3 separate regions of the Homo sapiens genome follow, and regions 2 and 3 are each linked to region 1. The links are contacts of gene promoters, found by promoter capture Hi-C in human tissues and cell types (Jung and others, 2019). All regions are on one chromosome and are shown on one strand. Each heading gives the region's core, a stretch centred on a gene start or on the middle of the fragment in contact. The rest is flanking DNA. Distances are from core to core; before and after follow the strand shown. Region 1 holds the start of SLC11A2 (solute carrier family 11 member 2). Region 2 overlaps DIP2B (disco interacting protein 2 homolog B). Region 3 overlaps DIP2B (disco interacting protein 2 homolog B).

The links. The method cuts DNA at HindIII sites, captures the fragments that hold promoters and counts their contacts. A contact is called where the count stands out against the background at its distance.
Region 2: a fragment that was not itself captured here is called in contact with the fragment with the promoter of SLC11A2 in region 1 in 1 of the 25 tissues and cell types used here (IMR-90 fibroblasts).
Region 3: a fragment that was not itself captured here is called in contact with the fragment with the promoter of SLC11A2 in region 1 in 1 of the 25 tissues and cell types used here (hippocampus).

The regions. Positions count from the first base shown.
Region 1 is chr12:51,024,882-51,027,997 of GRCh38, reverse strand. SLC11A2 (solute carrier family 11 member 2) reads left to right here and starts at 1,614. Exons shown (of 16, transcript NM_000617.3): 1 at 1,614-1,688. RefSeq lists silencers at 1,234-1,953, 1,964-2,023 and enhancers at 1,429-2,040, 2,041-2,654. The HindIII fragment of the contact is 17,071 bases long and covers 1-3,116 here.
Region 2 is chr12:50,541,565-50,544,680 of GRCh38, reverse strand. The region is part of intron 1 of DIP2B (disco interacting protein 2 homolog B); the gene reads right to left. Among named protein-coding and RNA genes, the nearest start is that of DIP2B, 38 kb to the right of the region's middle. The HindIII fragment of the contact is 6,729 bases long and covers 1-3,116 here.
Region 3 is chr12:50,713,570-50,716,685 of GRCh38, reverse strand. DIP2B (disco interacting protein 2 homolog B) reads right to left here. Exons shown (of 38, transcript NM_173602.3): 23 at 2,090-2,291. Among named protein-coding and RNA genes, the nearest start is that of ATF1, 49 kb to the left of the region's middle. The HindIII fragment of the contact is 3,863 bases long and covers 1-3,116 here.

The sequences.
Region 1 (3,116 bases), core at 365-2,864:
ATTTGTGCATTTTCTTTTTTCTCCAGGAGAAATTCTGTATGAAAACCAACCTGCTCCAGGAAGCCAAGCCCCCCCCCCCCACTTTTTTTTGGTCCCCGAGTTTGTTTTTACTTCGCACTTTATTTGGATTTTTCTCTTTGCAGTTCACGCTCCTTTCCTCATTTCTTGGTCTCTCTTACTAATGAAATTTTCTCCTAGCTGTTTTTACGTGAATAAAGAAGCTCAATTACCTTTAATGCTGTAAGCAGTGCGAGGGGTCGGGGAGTGAGGGTGGCGGGAGGATCTAATGTTTTTGGTGGCTGTAAACGACATTGCAGAAAATTACGGTAATTTGTTAGGCCATTTATTCCCTCTTCACCAGTTTGGCAGTCTCATCTTCAGAGCAAAAGATACGGTGTGAGGCTGAAACTGGCGATAGAGTGGGATTGCTTTTGGGTAGGTAGGATGAAGTCTGGGGAGAATCGAGTCAGCTGGGCGAGGAGGAAAACAATTCACTACGGAGGCTTGGGAGGACACCTAAGGCGGTCAAACTGGCTGCACTAGCTGATGTTTCTCGGTTCCTCCCAGGTGTGGGGTGCTCTTGGTGGGGCAGCAGATACTATGATGTGGCTCTGGGGGCGCGAGGAAATGTTCCTTCCAGGTGGCTATCCTTTTTTTTTGAGACAGGGTTTTGCTCTGCCACCCAGGCTGGAGTGCAGTGGCACGATCTTGTCTCACCGCAGCCTCCACCTCCCAGGCCCAAGTGATTCTCCCACCTCAGCCCCCGAGTAGCTGGGACCACAGGCGGGCGCCGTGATGCCTGGCTAATTTTTTTTTTTTTTTAGACGGAGTTTTCGCTCTTGTTTCCAAGGCTGGAGTGCAATGGCGCGATCTCGGCTCACTGCACCTCCGCCTCCCGGGTTCAAGCGATTCTCTTGCCTCAGCCTCCCGAGTAGCTGGGATTACAGGCATGCGCCACCACGCCCGGCTAATTTTGTATTTTTAGTAAAGACGGGGTTTCTCCATGTTGGTCAGGCTGGTCTCAAACTCCCGATCTCAGGTGATTCGCCCGCCTGGGCCCTCCAAAGTGCTGGGAGTACAGGCGTGAGCCACCGCGCCCGGCCTTTGCTTGGCTAATTTTAAAATTTTTTGTAGAGACCGGGTCTCACTATGTTGCCCAGGCTGGTATCGAACTCCTGGACTCAAGTGATCCTCCCGCCTCGGTCTCCCAAAGTGCTGGGCATTACAAGTGTGAGCCTCCGCGCCTGGCCTGGCTACCCTTTACAGGATAGAGCTATACCTCGTAGCTTGATTGTCAGTACCTAACGTGGCGCCACGGCGAACTAGGGCAGGAATCTTATCTGTCCCCAGACTGCTAGCGGACTGGAGCTCCCCAGTCCAGGGGCTGTGTGGGTCTGGCCAACGCAAGCAGCAACTAGGCAGCATGCAGCTCCCGCCGGGTGCCCCAGGGGCCGCCGCGTGCCCCAGGGGCCGCCGCATCCAGACTCCGCGTGGGCGGAGCCTAGGTCCCTGGTCTGCGGGCCACGCATCCCGGCCGCTGCAGGGACTCCAGCCAATAGGGATGTGCGGCTGCCGTCCTGTCGACCAATCGCGGGGAGGGGAGGGCGTTAGCCAGCGTGGCGCTGGCTCCCGGAATATGGAGCCCTGGGCGCGGGGGCGGCGTGTCAGGTGGTTGCGGAGCTGGTAAGGTGAGGGGAAGGCAAGGTCAGGGGTCACGGCATTCCGCTCGCTGGCAGGGAGGGGCGCGGGGCGGCTCGAGGGCCTGTGTCGGGGGTCAGGCTCCGGGGCTAGGATGCGACACCGGCTCGCCGTGCGGGGCTGTGAGGGGAGGTGTGGCCAGGGAGGGCCTCAGGCCCAGAGTCCAGGACTGATGGAGTCGCGCCATTCAGAGAAAGACCCAAAGATGGGGGCAGGGAGGGAACGCCGGAGGTCGCGGGGGTCTCGCCCCTTCCCCGCCGCGGCCTAGGACACATGGCCCAGCTCCCAGCTGCACCGGATGGCGCGCCCGGCCTGTGTCGGGGTGCGCTGACCTGCTTCGACGCCTCGAAAGAGGCCGACGGGCACAGGGCAAGGTCTTTCGTGGCCTCTTCGTCGGCGCCGCAGGGGGCCGGGCTGCTCTCCGGGGCCTCCCGCCGCCCCGCTTCAACAAAAGACTCATTATAACCTAACCGACTTCAGGGAGCGCCTTCTGTGTGAATAGCCTGCATACGCGGCTCAGTAATTGTGGGTAGATTGGTTTTAAGGCTGTTTGTGTAGCTCTCAGGGACCCTCTGGATTCCAGGCTCCAATGAGCAGGGTTTTTCTACAGGGGGATATTGCACATATGTAAGTGGGCTGGATGGCTCTCCCAGCTGTGCGTTTCATGTGTCCCCACTTTTAAAGCTACCGCTTAAATGTGACATCTCTTGCAAAAGCAAAAATTATATGGAAGGAGAGTTTGCAAGGGGAGATAGGCTTCTAAAAACTTGCTGGCCTCAATTTTAGTGACTGTTGGTGAAAAATGGAGAAGCTATGTTTACACTGACTTCTGGAACCCGAAGCCCCACCAGTTCGCATGATTTCTTGGCTTTGTAAATCTTTGAGCATGTTGTTTGCCTCTTTCTTCTTTTGTTCCACGTACTTAAAATGGGGATTGATAATATCAGTCTTACAGGGTTGTTGGTATGAAATTAGTTAATAAACAACAAAGTACTTAGAACTCTTGATGTGGAGGAGTTTTTGTTGTTGTTACCTTCTTTCCCCTTAACACTTCTAAAGAATTCTAACCTTATTACTTATTCTTTGCTCAGAGTCTCATGACTTATCACCAGTGAACCCGCCGGCCTATACTTTCCATTGACATCATTAACTTTGATCTGAGGGTATAGTGTAGTTATATGTGACTAGAGGATTTCTGCTGCGTGTTTGTTTTATTAAATACGGTTGGAAACTATCATTATACTAGGTCATTTATTGTGATACCTGTGTTGGGTAAATGAAACCTGAAACCTTCGGCTGTTTATTTTTTCATTGGACAGTATTTCATTGACAGTCTTGCTTGGCCTACTCAGTTTATTTTGGAGCCAGTACTAAAAAGGCCATGATTGCAGCATACTTGGTTTCTCATGTTTCCGGAA
Region 2 (3,116 bases), core at 289-2,788, 480 kb after region 1:
ACGCCATTGCACTCCAGCCTGGGTGACAGACTCCGTCTCAAAAAAAAAAAAAAAAAGAAAAAGAAAGTTATCTGAGGCCAGGTGCAGTGGCTCACGCCTGTAATCCCAGCACTTTGGGAGACCAAGACAGGTGAATCACAAGGTCAGGAGTTTGAGACCAGCCTGGCCAACATGGTGAAACCCCGTCTGTACTAAAAATACAAAAAATTAGCTGGGCGTAGTGGCAGGCACCTGCAATCCCAGCTATTTGGGTGGCTGACGCGGGAGAATCGCTTGAACCCAGGTGGCGGAGGTTGCAGTGAGCTGAGACCGTGCTACTGCACTCCAGCCCTAGTGACGGAATATCTGAATAGAAAAGTGACTGGAAGGGAATTTACTTAAATACCATTAGTGTTTACACTTGGGTGTTAGGATTAAGGAAATATTCATTTTCTTCTTTAATTTCCTTTTTTTTTTTTGAGATGGAGTCTCACTCTGTCACCAGGCTGGAGTGGCAGTGGCATGATCTCACTGCAATCTCTGCCTCCCAGGTTCAAGCGATTCCCCTGCCTCAGCCTCCTGAGCAACTGGGACTACAGGCGCGAACCACCACGCCTGGCTAATTTTTTGTATTTTAGTAGAGACGAGGTTTCACCATGTTGGCCAGGATGGTCTCGATGTCCTGACCTCGTGGTCTGCCAGCCTCCTCCTCCCAAAGCGCTGGAATTACAAGCGTGAGCCACCATGCCCAGCCTCCTTTTTTTTTTTTTTTTTTTTAAAGGCTGAGTCTCACTCTGTCGCCCAGACTGGAGTTCATTGGCACTACCTCAGCTCACTGCAACCTCTGCCTCCCAGGCTCAAGTGATTCTCCTGCCTCAGCCTCCTGAGTAGCTGGGACTACAGGCGTGTGCCACTATGCCCAGCTAATGTTTGTATTATTAGTAGAGACAGGGTTTCATCCACATTGGCCAGGCTGGTCTCGAACTCCTGGACTCAAGTGATCCTCCCACCTCAGCCTCCCAAAGTGCTGGGATTACAAGTGTGAGACACCATGACCGGCCCAACATGTGCTATTTTTATAATGAGGGAAAAGCTATTTTTGAAACATTAATAGGCTGAGAGCGGTGGCTCATGCTTGTAATCCCAGCACTTTGGGAGGCCGAGGCTGGCGGATCACCTGAGGTCAGGAGTTCGAGAACAGCCTGGCCAACATGACGAAACCCCTTCTCTACCAAAAATACAAAAATTAGCTGGCGTGATGGCGGGTGGCTGTAACCCCAGCTACTTGAGAGGCTGAGGCAGGAGAATTGCTTGAACCTGGGGAGCGGAAGTTGCGGTGAGCCAAGATTGCGCCACTGCACTCCAGCCTAGGTGACAGCGAGACTCTGTCTCAAAAATAAATAAAAAAGGGGGAAAAAAAAAAACTTTAACAGCTTGGCATAAGACATTGAAATTGTCTCTTAACCTTAATTAATTTACCCATGACTCTATCTTGGTGGAGGATGTATATGTAGCATTGACACCTCTGGGACAGGCACGGTGGCTCACGCCTATAATCCCATCACTTTGGGAAGCTGAGGTGAGTGAATCGCTTGAGCCCAGGAGTTTGAGACCAGCCTGGGCAACTTGGTGAAGCCCCATCTCTACAAAAAAAGACCAAAAAAAAATTAGCCAGGCATGGTGGCACACATCTGTAGTCCCAGCTACTTAGGAGGCTGAGGTGGGAGGATAGCTTGAGGTTGGGAAGCAGAGGGTGCAATGAGCCAAGACTGTGCCACTGCACTCCAGCCTGGGCAACACAATGAGACCTTGTCTAAGAAATAAAAAAGAAAAAGAAAAGAAACCTCTGAACAGAATAAACAACACAAGAAACAACTAGAAATTTGTTTTAGTTATTGTGTCATATTCTTTGGCCAAAATGAGAAACAGTTTAATCATAACGAGAAACAGTGTAATCATAAGTCTGATTAAAGCTTTGCAATTGTTCCAGCACCTGTTCAATTTTGCTGATGAACACACATATGACATACTAAAATCCAGACAGGATTTAACAAGTGAGATATATCAAACACAGGCCCTGTTGTTGTCAAGGTTTCTAGGTGTGGTTGCAGCTCAAGTATAATAAGATCATTTACATCTGAGTCAGTCACCCACTCTCCTGTCTGTGTCTCTCCCTCCACATCAGACATGGGCATGAACATAATACTCTATATAGCACAGGTCTGAGTAAAACTGAGATTTCAGGAGAGTGATGACTCAGGAATATCAAATCTTTTCCTTTTATGAGAGAAAATTAAGACAGGAAAAAACTATTACAGAAATATGCATCAACAAAGATGAAAAAAATTTTTGAATACATTTATAAATTCCAAGACAAATGCAGCCTTTTCCCATTCTCTTTATGAGATTTTGAGATTTTCTTTTTTCTTTTTTTTCTTTTTTTTTTTTTTTTTGAGACGGAGTCTCACTCTGTCACCCAGGCTGGAGTGCAGTGGCCCAAATCTCGACTCACTGCAAGCTCTGCCTCCCGGGTTCACGCCATTCTCCTGCCTCAGCCTCCCAAGTAGTATTTTTAGTAGAGATGGGGTTTCACTGTGTTAGCCAGGATGGTCTCCATCCCTGACCTCGTGATCCGCCCACCTCAGCCTCCCAAAGTGCTGGGATTACAGGCGTGAGCCACCGCGCCCGGTCTCTTTTTTTTTTTGAGACAGAGTCTCTGTCACCTAGGCTGGAGTGCAGTGGCGCAATTTCGGCTCACTGCAACCTCCACCTCCCGGGTTCAAGCAATTCTCGTGCCTCAGCCTCCCCAACAGCTGGGACTACAGGCATACGCCATCACGTCTGGCTAATTTTTGTATTTTTAGTGTAGACTGGGTTTTGCCATGTTTGCCAGACTGGTCTCCAATTCCCGGCCTCAAGTGATCCACCCACCTCGGCCTCCCAAAGTGCTGGGATTACAGGCATGAGCCACTGCATCCAGCCTCTTTATGATATTTTCTAGTTTGTCTTAATAGTGTGTGTGTTACTTTCTTTCATATACTATGGGTTAGCAGAAGAAATTAGATTCCAGACAGTTCCAAATCTAGAAAGGTGTCAGACATCTGGCAATCATATATATCCCCAAGTTCACAGAATTT
Region 3 (3,116 bases), core at 263-2,762, 310 kb after region 1:
TTGATCCTGAATATACTGAAACAGATGAGACAAAATCACTTAAATCATATAATCAATTTTCAAAGGGTAAATATTTGGGGAAGCTGGGTAAAGGGTGTAAGGAAAATCTTTGTACCATGTGGCAACTTTTTGTTTTGTTTTGTTTTGTTTTGTTTTTTGAGACAGAGTCTCGCTCAGTCGCCCAGGCTGGAGTGCAGTGGCACAATCTTGGCTCACTGCAAGCTCCGTCTCCCAGGTTCACGCCATTCTCCTGCCTCCCGGGTTCACGCCATTCTCCTGCCTCAGCCTCCCGACATGTGGCAACTTTTTTGTGTGAAATTATTTCAAAATGTAAAGTTTAAAAAATTTAAAAATAAAACAGAAAACTCAAAAAAGATAAAGTATTCCAATTGGTGAACAGTTTTAGTCTACAAAGTGTCTACTACAATTTTAAGTAAATATGCAATATTCCTCCCTAAGAAACTTCATGACAAATTATAGATATATCATGTTGGAGACAGCCTTTTAATACAGGCAGGGACTCAGAGTGTATTTATGTAAACTGTGCATTCTGGGATTTACATTATAAAATTAATAAAGGCATATTTTAAAAAGTGAATTTTGCAGTAGTTTAAAACAATAAAACTAATTCAGCAGCAGTTCCTGGATGTTCTTCTGTGTGCATTTCGTGAGTCTATGGGTCTGTGGGTCACAGAGAATGAAAGATACTGAAAGCAGTAACTCCAGGAAGCTAATTGCAGACACTGCTGTACCTGTAAATATGCCTTCTGATTTTCCAATAAAATTCTGTAAACGTCTTATGGCAAAAACTGCTAGTTATCAATTCCAGTATCCTATTCTTCTTCCTTAATAACAGAACCCCCAGTTTTTAGCTGGACACATGCCTGGAATAAAGACTATATTCTTTAGTGTGGGAGGATAATAAGTAAGAGGAAGTAATATGTGCAATTTCTAGAAAATATGTTAAAGGGAAGAGTATCCTTTCTTTACCTTTTCCTCCTACCTGCTGGCTGGGATGTAGAGGTTGGGGAGCCTAATGAGCCCTGGGGCAGTTGCTAATGATGGCTGTGGCCGATTATTTTATTTTCCCACAATCCTTCCTTTCTTTCTTGTCTTAGTTATGGCTGGATGGGATAAGTATACTTCATGGTCTCACTTGTTTAGGACAATGAAATGTTAGGACATGTGACACAAACAGAAGCTTTAAATATGCTCATGTGGCTTGGCTTGCTTTGTTGCTTCTGCCATCTGCCTTGAAAAAAATACGGCCCAGGTAGCTGCTGGTCCCATGATGAGGAGACACATGGAACAGCTCTGAACCCAACCTAAGCCTGGAGCCAAGTCAAGTCCAGTGGATCCCAGCCAAGCCAAGCAGATCCACATTCCATGAGTAAAAAGTAAATGCTTGCTACTTCAAGGCACTGAGTTTTAGGGTTATTTGTTCTGTAGCGTATCTATGACAAGAGGTGACAGACAAAACACCAGAGCAAAAAGATGGGAAGCTAGAAGAACATGATTGAGGAGTGACTATCCTAGCCTTTGGACTACCTAGCTCTGAACTTTTTTTACCTGACAAAAATATGCTTGTTTCTTGCCTGAGCTGCAATTTATGTTTTTCTGCAACCTGCAGCCAAGACTAGTCCTAACAAACACATTCTTTCTTTCTACAATAGCTCCAAAAGCATCTCAAGGATATGTTTGCCTCCGGGCTGCCTTAACACACCTTTTCCATCTTCCCTTTCTTTTTTGTTGAGACAGGGTCTGGTTCTGTCGCCCAGATTAGAGTGCAATGGCGCAATCTCGGTTTACTGCAACCTCCCAGGCTCAAGCCATCCTCTGTCAGCCTCTGAAGTAGCTGAGACTACAGGTGTGCACCACCGGGCCTGGCTAATTTTTTCCATTTTTTTTTGTAGAGACAGGATTTTACCATGTCGCCCAGGCTGTTTTCGAGCTCCTGGGCTCACACGACCCTCCCACCTTGGCCTCCCAAAGTCTTTGTAAACTAATTGTAGAGAAAGAATCACACTGAGAGAACCCAGCTTCTTGAAGTTGGAATTTTAGTGCCAGGTCTTGGAAGCCAGCATATTACCTGGTTGTTTTTGCCGGGGCTTTGGCAAGTTTGTCACACATGTATGGGGGCACATGAGGATGTTGCAAGGATGCAGTGATCCCTCCAGAAAGAGTTGTTTCGTCTGAGATATATGGATTCCTCCTAGTGGAGTTTTTGGCAATGTATTGGCTGGCACCAGAGCAAGACAATAAACCCCCACTTGATGAATGCTATCGATCGCCTAGAAAAATACAAACAAAAATACTCAGTGAGATCACTTCTATTACATTTGACATATTCCTGGTATAATCCATTATTTTACGCTACAATTTTTCTTACTCTACCCATTCTAGATCTAGAATCTGGCAGATCACTAAGATTCCATATATCTAGAGATTTAAAGATAATCATTAAGATAATACACATCTTTCAGCTGTGGCAGAGATTAAAAGAAGAGAGGTAAGATACAATCTAAATGGACAAAGGTGGATATTGACTTGCAACTCAGTATGTTCTCTTTTTAAGTTTTTATTCTTTTTAGAGACAGGGTCTCATTCTGTCAGCTGGGGTGGAATGCAATGGCACAAGCCATGACAGCCCCAAATTCCTAAGCTCAAGTGATCCTCCTGCCTCAACCTCCCAAGAAGCTGGGACTACAGGGATGCACCACTGCGTCTGGCTAATTTAAAATAATTTTTTTTCTTTTCTTTTTTTTAATTTTAAGGTTTTTGGAGAGATGGGGTCTCACTGTGCTGCCTAGGCTGGTCTTGAACTCATGGCCTCAAGTGATGCTCCCACCTTGGCCTCCCAAAGTGCTGAGATTACTGTCATACCATGCCCAGCCAATATGTTCTCTCTTAAGTGATAATGTCAAAAACCTAGAAATTTGTTTTGGTTCTTTTAATCTTTTAGCTATCAGCCAACAAAGCCTAATTAAACAGAAGTAAGGTATTTTTATTATGAACACAACAGCAGCTCTCTAAAGGAGCCCCCACTTAAGTGATTCACCATGTTACCATGCATCTCCTCTGAAAAACATCTGGGGTGAGGCCCATAGCACACCGAG